3 separate regions of the Homo sapiens genome follow, and all the other regions are linked to region 3. The links are contacts of gene promoters, found by promoter capture Hi-C in blood cells and fetal thymus (Javierre and others, 2016). All regions are on one chromosome and are shown on one strand. The core of a region is centred on a gene start or on the middle of the fragment in contact, and the rest is flanking DNA. Distances in the headings are between cores, read along the strand shown. Region 1 overlaps DNTTIP2 (deoxynucleotidyltransferase terminal interacting protein 2). Region 2 overlaps RNPC3 (RNA binding region (RNP1, RRM) containing 3). Region 3 holds the start of LRRC40 (leucine rich repeat containing 40).

Region 1 (4,126 bases), core at 25-2,524, about 24 Mb before region 3:
AGGTTGAGGTAGGAGGATCACTTGAGTCCCAAGAGTTCAAGGCTGCAGTGGTCACTACTGCACTCCATCCTGGGCCAACAGTGAGACCCTGTCTCAAAAAATAAAATAAAATGATGAAAAATATATTTATTTAGAGTTTTTTTTCAGGAATTCCTCATAAAAATAAGATGCTTTTTTTTCTTTATTGTGGACAATACAAGGGAAGAGAAGAATAAGTGATTTTTTAAAATGCCATCTTATATGTTTCCATTTTGATTTAATTACTTGATCTTTAAGTGATGATTTCTTTTTCAGTCTGAAGTTGACAAGCAGCAGCATAGACCCTGGTCTGAGTATCAAGCAGTTGGGTGGTTTGTATATTAATTTTAATGCAGATAAACTACAGTCTAACAAGAGAACCCTAACACAGATCAAGGAGAAAAAGAAAAATGAGGTAAGTTAATTGTGCTGTTAGGTTTTCACAGAACTAACCAATCACTTTTAGAAATTAGTCCTTGGTAAAAGACTTAATTTTCCTACAGTGAAACCACATTGGCCTAATGTGTTAGTTTTTTCCTTCTCTCTAAAACAGTCATTTCTTTTTACAATAAAATCCTATCTATGAATGATAATGCTTTAAAAATAAATCAATACAGGGTCAGTGTTCCTCATCTTACACCCACCAATTATGATCCCAGGGGTTTTGTTTTTTTCCCTTTTCTTGCTATACTTTTAGTTCTTAAGTTCTTAACTAGTGTAGACTGTTGAGAATCTGAAAGCTGTGAATGCCTGCCTGCCTCTTCCACCCGGAAAAAAATGCACATGTGCATATAGACATTTTACATATAATTTCAGAAGGAATTACTGTTAAGGTAACTTTACCCAAACCCTTAGCTTTAGCCAACACCTTGCACTGTTTTCTCCTAAATCTATATTTTCTAGCCTTGATGCTTCTCACTGTCACTTTCAGACCTTTAAATCCAAGTACCTATTTGTTCATTTAGATGTCCTCAGGTACTTGACGTCACTAATTCCCCTTTCCCTGCCTGAACCAGGAATCCTCTTCTTGTATTCTTTTTTCTGGCTAATGAAACCAAACTCTCTTTTCCTTTTGTAGTCAGTCACCAAGCCTCTAGGGGAAGATATTTCTCTGCTTCCTCCTTTTCAAGCGACTGTCACCAGCTAGTGCAGGCCTTTGCTTCTCATCTGGACTACTCCAGTGGCTTCCTTATTGATCTTGTTTTCATCTTGTTCTTCAAGCCATCCTCCACACTTCTAGATTTCTCTGTCTAAAAACACAAATCCGGCTGGGCAAGGTAGCTCACATCTATAATCCCAGCACTTTGGGAGGCTGAGGCAGGAGAATTGTTTAAGCCCAGGAGTTTGAGACCAACCTGGGCAACATAGCTAGACCACATCTCTCCTCCCTGCCCCAAAAAACACACCACACACACAGATGTGACAGTATTCTCTTGAATCCTTCAAAGTACCTCTCTACCCCACCCAGCTGTCATCTGCTCTATTCTTGCCACTGAAGACTACTGTAGTTGCCTGAACTTACCCTGCTTTTCCCCAAGCAAGTGCAAAATAATTGATCGTTGCCCTTGGGGAATATTTTACCTCCAGTCCTTCTCACAACCCCTCTGTTTCCATAACATCTAGCATAGATCTGATTCATTGTTGATCATGTGATATATTAACTTACCATCTTTTCTTTATATTCCTAAAACAGGGTTTTTCAGTCTCAGCACTACTGATGTTTTGGGCTGCATAATTTTGTTGTGAGATGTTCCGTGCATAGTAGGATGTTTAACAGCATCCCTATCTTTTGCCCACTAGATGTCAGTAGCATTCTTCCTTATCCTCACCACCACCAAAAATGTCTCCAGACATTGCCAGATGCTCCCAGTTGAGAACCACTGTCCTTGAATGTACTACAGTACTTGACTCACAGCAAACTCTTAATCATTTGTTAAGTAAATATCATGCCCCCTTTTATGAGTGATAGGAAAGCCTAGACGGCTACCTATACCACACAGAAACATCTAGGCCTGAACCTGAATTGTGTGCCTGACTGTTAATTTCTGAGTTGATCATTTCAAATGTCAGTCCCAAATTAATGCTTGTACTATATTCCTGTAAACTATTTTGAGGGCTACAGAGCAGTCTTACTTGGTTCTTGTACTGAGAAAAATACTAATTAACCTGAGGTTCCTTTAGTCACACAGAGTTTTAGGAGAATATAATCATCCTAGTCAAGTAACAAAAGTACAGAAATCATTTAGGAAAAGATAAACAGATTTGACTGCACAAATTTATTTATTTATTTTGGAGAAATGGCGTTTTCTTATGTTACCCAGGCTAGTCTTGAACTCCTGGCCTCAAGTGATTGTCCTGCCTTGGCCTCCTAAAGAGTTGGGATTATAGGCATGAGCCATCGTGCCTGGCCTTTTTTTTCTTTTTTCTTTTTTTTTTTGGGAGGGAGCTGGGTTTGGGGGGAGACAGGGTCTCACTCTGTCACCCAGGCTGGAGTGAGTGGCACAGTCATAGCTTGCTGCAGCCTCAAGCTCCTGGCCTCAAGTGATCCTTCTGCCTTAGCGTCCTGAGTAGCTGGGACTACAGGTGTGTGCCACCATGCCCAACTAATTTCTTTTCTTTTTTTTTTTTTTTTTACAGTCAGGGTCTTGCTATGTTGACCAAGGTGGTCTAAAACTCCTGGCCTCAAGTGATCCTCCTCCCTTGGCCTCCTCAAAGCACTAGGATTATAGGTGTGAGCCACTTTGCCAGGCTGACTAAAAATTTTAAAACTTACAGAAGTTTAAACTGTTGAAAAACTTATATAACATTCTGACATTATTTTAAAACCAATTTTATGTTTTTATAGCTTCTGCAGAAAGCCGTCATTACACCTGATTTTGAAAAAAACCACTGTGTTCCACCATATAGTGAATCAAAGTATCAACTTCAGAAAAAACGCAGAGTAAGTACAGTGACTTAATTAAAATGCTTAGATATGTTTGGCTATATATTTTCAGCTTATACAACATAACTGCACAATTAAACTGTATCTGTTGGTCTATATATGAGTCCAAAGAAAATAATTACAGATTTCTAAGGGCTGTAAAATATAGTACCATAAACACATTATGTATAGATTTTCACATCTTTGCAGCCACAATAGTGCATCTATAAGTAGAGGTTTTTTAAAAAAATATATATATATATAGATTACTTCTATCTGCCATTTCGACTAGTTATCCAGAGAGCTTGAAGGAAAGTTGAGGATGGTATTCTAGTAATGTTACTGTAATATGGAGCACCCTGGCACATGGTAGGCACTAACTAAATACTTGTTGTATGAATGAAACAAAATTAAATAACTTGTAGGAGTTTTCTAAAGAATAGTATTTTGTTTTATTGTAGAAATAACACAAGGTTCTGGATCCTTGTATGAGTGGCATTCTGAGACTCCTGGGTGACTGAATAAAAATGTTTACATATAAGCTCTAGAAACGAAAGTGTTTTTATACATTTTCTTACTGCATATAGTCTGTTTTAGACAATAAAAATTGAAGTTGTGTGTTATTCTCCCAGCAAGTCAGCAGTTACTCTCTGAGACAGAAAATAGATTTTACGGAGCCCTCATTTATGAAACTGATAATCCTGTCCCTAATTTAGCGGAGAAGTCACTTTTTGTGATTTAATTCCTTTTATCTCTATGATTCTGGATTTAAGTGCTTTCAATAAAGTAACCATTTGTTTTTAATTTACAAAATTTTCTGTATGTGTTACTTCAGGGGAAATGAATTATAATGTATACTCTTAGCTGTTAGAATGTTTATTTTTGAAATCATAATTTCAGAAAGAACGACAAAAAACAGCAGGGGATGGCTGGTTTGGTATGAAAGCTCCAGAAATGACAAATGAACTGAAAAATGATCTCAAAGCACTGAAGATGAGAGCCAGCATGGACCCGAAAAGATTTTACAAGAAAAATGATAGAGATGGCTTCCCCAAGTACTTCCAGGTATGAAGCAAACAGAATAGTGGTGATGATCTGTGAATTTTAGTTTGGAAAGCACTGTAGTGTTCTTTAAAGTTTACTCCTAAAATAGAGGATATTTCCATTGTGCATGCCTAATGTATG
Region 2 (4,121 bases), core at 1,354-3,853, about 33 Mb before region 3:
TTTCAATTTATAAAAACTACCACAAATCTCAGGGTGATTTTTAATTATGCCACAAAATTACTTATTACAATCTTAGTCTATTTTTTCCACCTATATCTCAGAGAGTATTTTGTACTTTCTCCTTGTTCCTTAACCTCACAATATTTTTCTTGTATTCCGTTAGCTTAGCACCTTGTTTTCTACTTTGAGACAACAGAATTGATGACATGAGAATATCAGACTCCCACTATAACCCCCCATCTACCAGCATATGCATGCTATCTGTTATCATCTATTAACTATCCACATGCCTATCTAAATCCAGCTGCTTAACTTATATACTAAATTCCATCCTCTCATCTCCTCAAGGGTCTTTACTTAGCTATGCTCTGGAATTGTGTGTGGTGAGGGGTGTGGAGGGTGATCTTATTTATACTGTTAATTTACTGTCCTCTATTGGATTATCCGTATCAGTATGAAAACATGCTCCTATTTCTCCCATCCTAAATTTGTATTATTAGTTTTGCAGTAAAACTCTGTACAAGCTATCTAAACCCTCTATCTACAACTCCTCTCTGCCTATTCAGTTTCAAACCTATTTCAATCAGGTTAATGCTTTAATAAGTTTACTGAGACTGCTTATCATAGACAACAAATTTTGCATTGTTGGGCTAATGATCAACTCCTAGTCTTCACTTGGTTGCATTTAACATAGTTAATCACTCCTTCCTGGATACATGTCATTCACTTGGCTTCAAGACTTCATACATTCTTAGTTTTCTTCCTAGCTCGCTGGTTTGTACTCCTCCATCTCTTTGACTTGTGCCTTCTCTCACGTTCTTAATGTTAGAATGCTCCAGAGCTCTTGTCCTGGTCTTCCTCTCTCTCTCAACATATTATGTTGGTGATTTAATCCAGCATCCGAACTTTAAATCTGTATGCTAATGATTCACTAATTTATAATTTCAGCACAGACTTCTGTCCTGAAGTCAAGGAACACATATTCAAATAATGGATAGCGCCCCATAGATATCTAACAAACATTTCAAATTCAACATTTCACTTAATCTTTCCCCCAGCCCCAAATGTGCTCCACCAGGAGCCATCTCTATTTCAGTTGATAGCAACTCCATTCTTCCAATTATTCAGGTCAAAAATCTTGTAATCATCCTTAATGCTTCTTTCCTACATTCCATATCCAAGTCATTAAGAAATCCTGTTTGCCTATACCATAAGGCCATAGTCATCAAAACAGCATGGTACTGGTATAAAAATAGGCACATAGACCAATGGAACAGAATAGAGAACACAGAAATAAACCCAAATACTTACAGGAAACTGATCTTCCAGAAAGCAAACAAAAACATAAAGTAGGGAAAAGACACCTTATTCAACAAATGGTGCTGGGATAATTGGCAAGTCGCATGTAGAAGAATGAAACTGGATCCTCATCTCTCACCTTATACAAAAATCAACTCAAGATGGATCAAGGACTTAAATCTAAGACCTGAAACCATAAAAATTCTAGAAGATAACATCAGAAAAACCCTTCTAGACATTGGCTTAGGCAAAGACGTCATGACCAAGAACCCAAAAGCAAATGCAACAAAAACAAAGATAAATAGATGGGACTTAATTAAACTAAAAAGCTTCTGCACAGCAAAAGAAACAATCAACAAACAGACAACCCATAGCGGGAGAAAATATTTGCAATCTATACATCCAAAAAAACCACTAATGTCCAGAATCTACAAGGAATCCAAACAAATCAGCAAGAAAAAAAACAATCCCATGGGCTAAGGACATGAATAGACAATTCTCAAAATAAGATACACAAATGGCCAACAAACATGAAAAACTGCTCAACATCACTAATGATCATGGAAATGCAAACCAAAATCATGAGGCAATACCTCCTTACTCCTGCAATAATGGTCATAATGAAAAAATCAAAACATAATAGATGTTGGCAGAATATGTGGTGAAAGTGACTTTCACACTGCTGGTGGTAATGTAAACTAGTACAGTAAGTATGAAAAATAGTGTGGAGATTCCTTAAAGAACTAAAAGTAGACCTACCATTTCATCCAGCAATCCCACTACTGAGTATCTACCCAGAGGACAATAAGTCATTATACAAAAAAGACAGTTGCACATGCACGTTTATAGCAGCACAATTTGCAATTGCAAAAATACGGAACCAGCCCAAATGCCCATCAATCAATGAGTGGATAAAGAAATTATGGTATATATATATATAACATGGAATACTACTCAGTCATAAAAAGGAACAAAATAATGGCATTTGCAGCAACCTAGATGGAATGGGAGACCATTATTCTAAGTGAAGTAACTCAGGAATCAAAAACCAAACATCGTATGTTCTCACTCCTAAGTAGGAGCTAAGCTATGAGGACCCAAAGGCATAAGAATGATACAATGGACTTTGAGGACTCAGGAGAAAGTGTTGGGAGTGGGGGTGAGGGATAAAAGACTTCACAATGGGCACAGTGTATATTGCTTGGGTGACAGGTACATCAAAATCTCAGAAATCACGACTAAAGAACTTATTCATGTAACTAAACACCACCTGTTCCCCCAAAACCTACTGGAATAAATACAGTAAGAAATCCTTGCTTCTACCTTCAAAATATATAAAGAATCTAATCACCGCTAACCACTACCATTGTGGTCAAGGCAACCATCAATTCTGGACTGAATTACCACAATATTTTAACGGATTTCCCTGTTTCTACCTTTCCCTCCCTTCAGTCTAGTCACAACAGCAAAAGCAATTCTTTGAAATACCAAGGTCACCCCCTTGCTCCAATGGCTCCCTATTTTACTGACAGCAATCTAAGTTCCTTACTATAATCTACATAATATAGATTCTATGACTTCTCTGACTTCAAATCCAATGATCACTCCCACTCCTGCTCCCACAGATCACTCCCACTATGTCTGCTCCAGTCACAGTGGCTTCCTTGAACAACGTGACAGGCATGGTCACATCCTAGAGCCCCTGTTCCAGCTGTTCCTCTAATTCAAAGGTACTTCTCCCAGAAATTTCATTAGCTAACTCCCTTCGCATCCTTCAAATTGTTGTTCAAATATAACCCTAACTACAGCCTGACCTCTCCCCACTTAGCACTCCTGATCTTATTGCTCTACTTGTCCTTTTTCCATAGCATTTATCATCTTCTAAAATATTAAAGTTTATTATTTATTGTCTGTCTCCCCTTTTGAGAATATGAACTATAATCATCTTTGTCTTCACATATAATCCCAAAACCTAAATCAGCATCTAGCACATAGTAGGTACTTAATATTTTTGAACACATGAAAGTACAAGCCTTAACCAGAGACCGGTTTTGTGCAAGACAATTTTTCCACAGGCTGGGGTGGGGGGTGGGGAGAAGATGGTTTCGAGATGAAACTGATTCATCTCGGATCATAAGGCATTAGTCAGATTCTCATTGAGAGCGCAACCTAGATCCCTTGCATGTGCAGTTCACAACAGGGGCCAAGGCACTGCTGATCTGACTGGAGGTGGAGCTCAGGCAGCCAGGCGGAGTCGCCCTGAATAGAGATAAAGCTTCCTCAGCCTGCCAGTCACCTCCTGCTGTGCGGCCCAGGTTCTAACAGGTGGTGGTTAGGTACCAGGCCGTGGCTGGGTACCAGTCTGTGTCCCAGGGTTTGAGGATCCCTGCCTTACATCATCATACAAAGTTAATTTTAAAATGTTTCAATAATTTTCAAGACCCTAAATGAACTTTAGACCTCTTTATTATCAGTGAAGCCTTGATTATCTGAAATGAAGGTCATCTAACCTGACTTACTCCAACTTTCTTCTTCTCAAATGGGTATCACATATGTTCTTATTTTCAAAGATTTATGGTTTTTCATTTTTAATGTTAACTCCTCCTACCTGACTCGGCTACTTACTCTATTCTTGAACATTTCTCCCTTTGTTTTCTTAATCTATCACTTTCCAATTAGGCCAAATGCTCTCTAGCCTAAAAGCCCTATCAATATTGCCGTTAACCTCTTACTGCTTCCTTTCACTACAGACATTTCCAAAGACAATGACTGGCTCCATGTCCTCTCCTCCAAGTTATTCTTGACCCTAAAACAATGCGTTT
Region 3 (4,164 bases), core at 1,112-3,611:
CAGGAGTTCAAGACCAGCCTTGGCAACACAGACTCGTTTCTACAAAAAATAAAAACAATTAGCTGGGCATGGTGGTGTGATGGCTACTCAGGAAGCTGAGGTGGGAGGACTGTTTGAGCCCAGGATTTCGAGGTTGCAGTGAGCTGTGATCGCACCACTGTACTTCATCATGGGTGACAGAGTGAGACCTGGTCTCTTAAAAAAAAAAAAAAAAAGAACGAAAGAAGAATCTATTGTAGGGGGAGGGGTGGTTACTGTAAAATTTTGTACTCGAGCAATTCAATTCTCCAAAGGTGGGTTGTTTCTTCCCCAAAGGTAGGTTGTTACTATAAAGAGAAAAAGGTGGTTCTTTAATAAAGAAATCTTCTTAAAAACAACTGAAGTGTCTCTTACAATGATTACAGGATTAAAAAAAAAAGCAAGTTGGGAATTATGAAAAGCCACTAGGGAAGTCATGGTGATTAAAAAGAAAGGTTTTGGAGACAGATCTAGGTTCAAATTCCTGGTCGTGCTATTCAGAGAAACTTGTGAGGTTGGGTAAGTTTCTTCACCCCTTTTAGCCTCAATTTCCTTATCTGCAAAATTAGTCACTGTGTTAAATAAGAAATAGCAAACAGAGGTATTATTAGCACTGAGCCTGGTATGGGCCCAATAAGGCAGCTATTACCATTACTGTGAAGACAAGCTGACCAGGGACCTCATTAATAACGTTGCAAAAGCTGCTACGGTCGTTTTCCTTTAAAACTCAGGCTGGGCACGGCGACTGACACCTGTAATCCCAGCACTTTGGGAGGCCGAACTGGGCGGATCGCTTGAGGCTGGGAGTTCGAGACCAGCCTGACCAACATGGCGAAACTCCGTCTCTACTAAAAAATATAAAAATTAGCCAGGTGTGGTGGTGCGCGGCTATAATCCCAGCTACTGGAGAGGCTGAGGCAGGAGAATCACTTGAACCTGGGAGGCGGAGGTTGCAGTGAGCCGGGATCACGCCACTGCATTCCAGCCTAGGCGACAGACCAGACTTTGTCTCAAAAAAAAAAAAAAAAAAAAGACAAAAATCCACTCTTTGCTTTTTTAGTAGGGTAACAACTATTGGTAACTTTCTCTTGTTCGATATTAGTGTAAAGGACTCCACAGAAATAAGAACAAAAAGGGTAGAGTTAAAAACCGAATTTTACAGGTAGCAATAACCTGGACTCAGGTAAAAGTGCGTGATGAAGAATTGATCAAAGGGCCTTCATCCTAGCTTTCAACTATTCTACCAATCCTCAGTAGACTTGATGGGGGTTAGAATGGTATTCCCTGGCATATGCTTTTAAAACAAAATCATTTCAGGCAAAAGAAAAGTCTAGCACCCAGGATAGTACACATACTAGGCAGGATTAATCTTAATAATTACTTGTTGAATCAAGAAGTTGTACATTTCAGATGAAAATTTTAATTTCCTAGGAAACACCGACTTACATTGAACAAAATTTTCATTTGCTATTATTCTGGACTCACCGAGAGCTCAAGATTCTAGTTTTTATCTTCACTTATTTCAAAAACCTTATGCGGTAGGAATTATCCCCAAAGTAATGAAAAAAAGGAATGAGCTTTAAAAGCGGTTGAGTAAACTGCCTAAAGTTAACAGTTTCTAAAGTAAAGAAGCAGCTGAGATTTGAACTTGCTTTTTAGGGCTCAAAAATCCAAGCTGTCTGAGCTTCACTAAAGCATGTACCACTACTTGTCTCCCTAAACTGTCTGATACACAGAACATTTATTAAATTTTAAGGATTTTTGTTTTTGTCTTCTATGTTGCCAGTCCTTCCATTTCACATTACCTCCTTTGCTGGGTAAGCTATATACCCTCAATACAACGAGAATGGTGTCAGAGTACAAGCCTTAAGAACAGAAAATTTCTTTTACTCCGTACGCCAGAGGTCTGGCGCCACCACCACAAGCGACAAACACAGGCTGGGGTCCAGAAACGCTGCCGACCGCGCCCAGATCTCAAGTTTTAGTCAAGGCCCACGTTCAGACTAGGAGAGGGGAGAAGAGAGGGTTCTCTTTCCCCACACCCTCGCCACGGTGGAAGCACAGAGGAGAAGGTTGGAGTCGCAGTAACAGTGCAAACAATAAACCCGAAAGCCCCTCTTAAGCCCGTTAAACGCACTTACTTGATTGAAGTAATTCCAGGACGCTAGGCCGGCACCGGCAACGGAAAAGGCTTCTCTGTCCTCCAGCCCAGGCGCTGGTGCTGACGACATCTGGACTGCGCCGCAGAGAGTGAAGGCCCAGCGCGAGGCCGCGAGCCCAGCGCCCAGAGCGCGCGCTCACGAAAGGAGCGGGGCATCCCAACGGCGCCACCTTTAAGCGTCACGGGTGGGGCTGCAGCTTCTGGACCTAGGACTTTGAACATGTCGCGCCTGAAGCGGATAGCGGGGCAGGATCTCCGCGCTGGTTTCAAAGCAGGTGGAAGAGACTGCGGTACCTCGGTACCCCAAGGGCTGTTGAAGGCAGCGAGGAAGAGCGGCCAGTTAAACCTGTCGGGTAGAAACCTCAGTGAAGGTAAGACCCAGAGGTACGACCCTATTGTGTCTCCTGTCAGAAAGCCTTTGGCCCAGGCAACCTCCCTTTTCTCTGGGCTGGCTTTGGCCCCCTTTCTCAGACTGCTAGCCAGAATTTCTGTGCTCTAATCTAATCCCTGTGCTCATTTCGACCGGTTTGGTTAGCCCAGTTCAGTTCCTTCCCAGGTTCCCGCAATCTCTGTTAAAGGGACCCTGCTAAAAATACGGTCTAAATTTAAACGGGGCGCTTTCTGGGATTCCCACATTCTGTGGGATAAGCAACATAATATGTGACGAAACCAGCTATCAAATCACGGGCAAATCTTTTGTTTCTTTGGCCCTTATTTTCCTCCTCTTATTGTAATCTTCAAGGGCAATTACCAAAGCTAAAATTATATGTTTTATCGGCCCCTTTGTGAACCTGCACTGTTCCCTGCCGAGACGCTCTTCTGTATGCAGCTGTGCAGAGTTCTACTTACAAGGAATAATGAGTATATTTTCTAAGTTGAAGATCAGGATAGATGCCACACAGAGTGTTTGAATGTGGGGACATCCTGAGAAACCTGTTAAAGACCAAGAAGCACAAATCTGGGTACCATGAATGAATGGCCAGATGCTCTTCTGATTGTCGTGTGTGTGTGTGTGTGTGTGTGTGTGTAAGAGAGAGAGGGAGGGGAATGGAGAGATGGAGAAATAGAGCATTTTTCCTGTAATGTTTTTCTTCATTTATATTTAGGTTTTAAGACTGATTAAAACCTTCCATTTTCCTTCTAATGATTGCTTTCTTATTGTGACATGTATAAAGTAGATTAGGCAAGCAAATGCTTCTGAATGAATGAAAAGACACAGAATCCTTACTCCACCTAAAAGAGTTTTTGATCAATGGGAACATACTCATTTTCAAACTACAGTTGTGCATATATATATATCTACTTGGTTTCCCCAAAACCTGAAACATTTTTCTCTAAACTTGCATACCTATCATGCTAACATTCTGTTCTCTTACCTGTTTAATTTTTTAACAGCATTTATCACTATCAGAATTTATATCATTTATGTTTTTTGTTTTCTCTGCCCTCCAACCAAAAGGTTAATATCATGAAGTCAGTGAGCTTTGTTTTGTGCTTTGTTGTATTTCTATCACTGAAAATAGTGCTTGGTACATAGTAGAGTCTTATTAAATTTTGCGGAAGCAATAAGTAAGTGAATGAGTATTCTCAAATCATAAGTGGTGTGCTAGAATGTACTTATTGACTAGACTCAGGTGGTTTCGTCTGTTAAACTTTAAGAGAGCACATGGATTCTGACTCTTAGGTCCGTGATGATATGGATTAGAACTGCTTAGGTTATTGTTATATAACCAGAACCTAACACTTTACCTGGTACATAAAATGATTTTAAATGAGTGAATAAACAGCATTTCATAGGAGGGAAAGATATAAATGGCAGAAACTCATGGTATTTGTAGCTTATATATAAAAAAGGAATCCCTGTTACTATAATATAGAAAGTCTTTCTCTGTCTGGCTGTATGTAGCCCTCAGTTTCATCACTTGTTAGTGAAACTTTGATAGGCAAACCACTATAATTCTGAACTGTTTGTAGTTCGTTACGGG

Evidence for each region. Contacts are between HindIII fragments. The CHiCAGO score rates a contact against its expected background, and 5 or more counts as called.
Region 1: a contact is called between a fragment that was not itself captured here and the fragment with the promoter of LRRC40 in region 3, in 1 of 17 cell types (non-activated CD4 T cells). The highest score is 6.4, in non-activated CD4 T cells.
Region 2: a contact is called between a fragment that was not itself captured here and the fragment with the promoter of LRRC40 in region 3, in 1 of 17 cell types (total CD8 T cells). The highest score is 7.0, in total CD8 T cells.

What each region holds. Positions count from the first base shown.
Region 1 is chr1:93,871,952-93,876,077 of GRCh38, reverse strand. It overlaps DNTTIP2 (deoxynucleotidyltransferase terminal interacting protein 2), which reads left to right. Exons shown (of 7, transcript NM_014597.5): 3 at 295-433; 4 at 2,864-2,959; 5 at 3,842-4,006. Among named protein-coding and RNA genes, the nearest start is that of DNTTIP2, 5.2 kb to the left of the region's middle. The HindIII fragment of the contact is 7,821 bases long and covers 1-4,126 here.
Region 2 is chr1:103,529,327-103,533,447 of GRCh38, reverse strand. The region is part of intron 2 of RNPC3 (RNA binding region (RNP1, RRM) containing 3); the gene reads right to left. Among named protein-coding and RNA genes, the nearest start is that of RNPC3, 5.7 kb to the right of the region's middle. The HindIII fragment of the contact is 1,946 bases long and covers 1,631-3,576 here.
Region 3 is chr1:70,203,776-70,207,939 of GRCh38, reverse strand. It overlaps LRRC40 (leucine rich repeat containing 40), which reads left to right and starts at 2,361. Exons shown (of 15, transcript NM_017768.5): 1 at 2,361-2,550. The coding sequence starts at 2,400. It also overlaps a transcript of SRSF11 not described here. RefSeq lists enhancers at 2,138-2,447, 2,708-2,767. The HindIII fragment of the contact is 8,465 bases long and covers 1-4,164 here.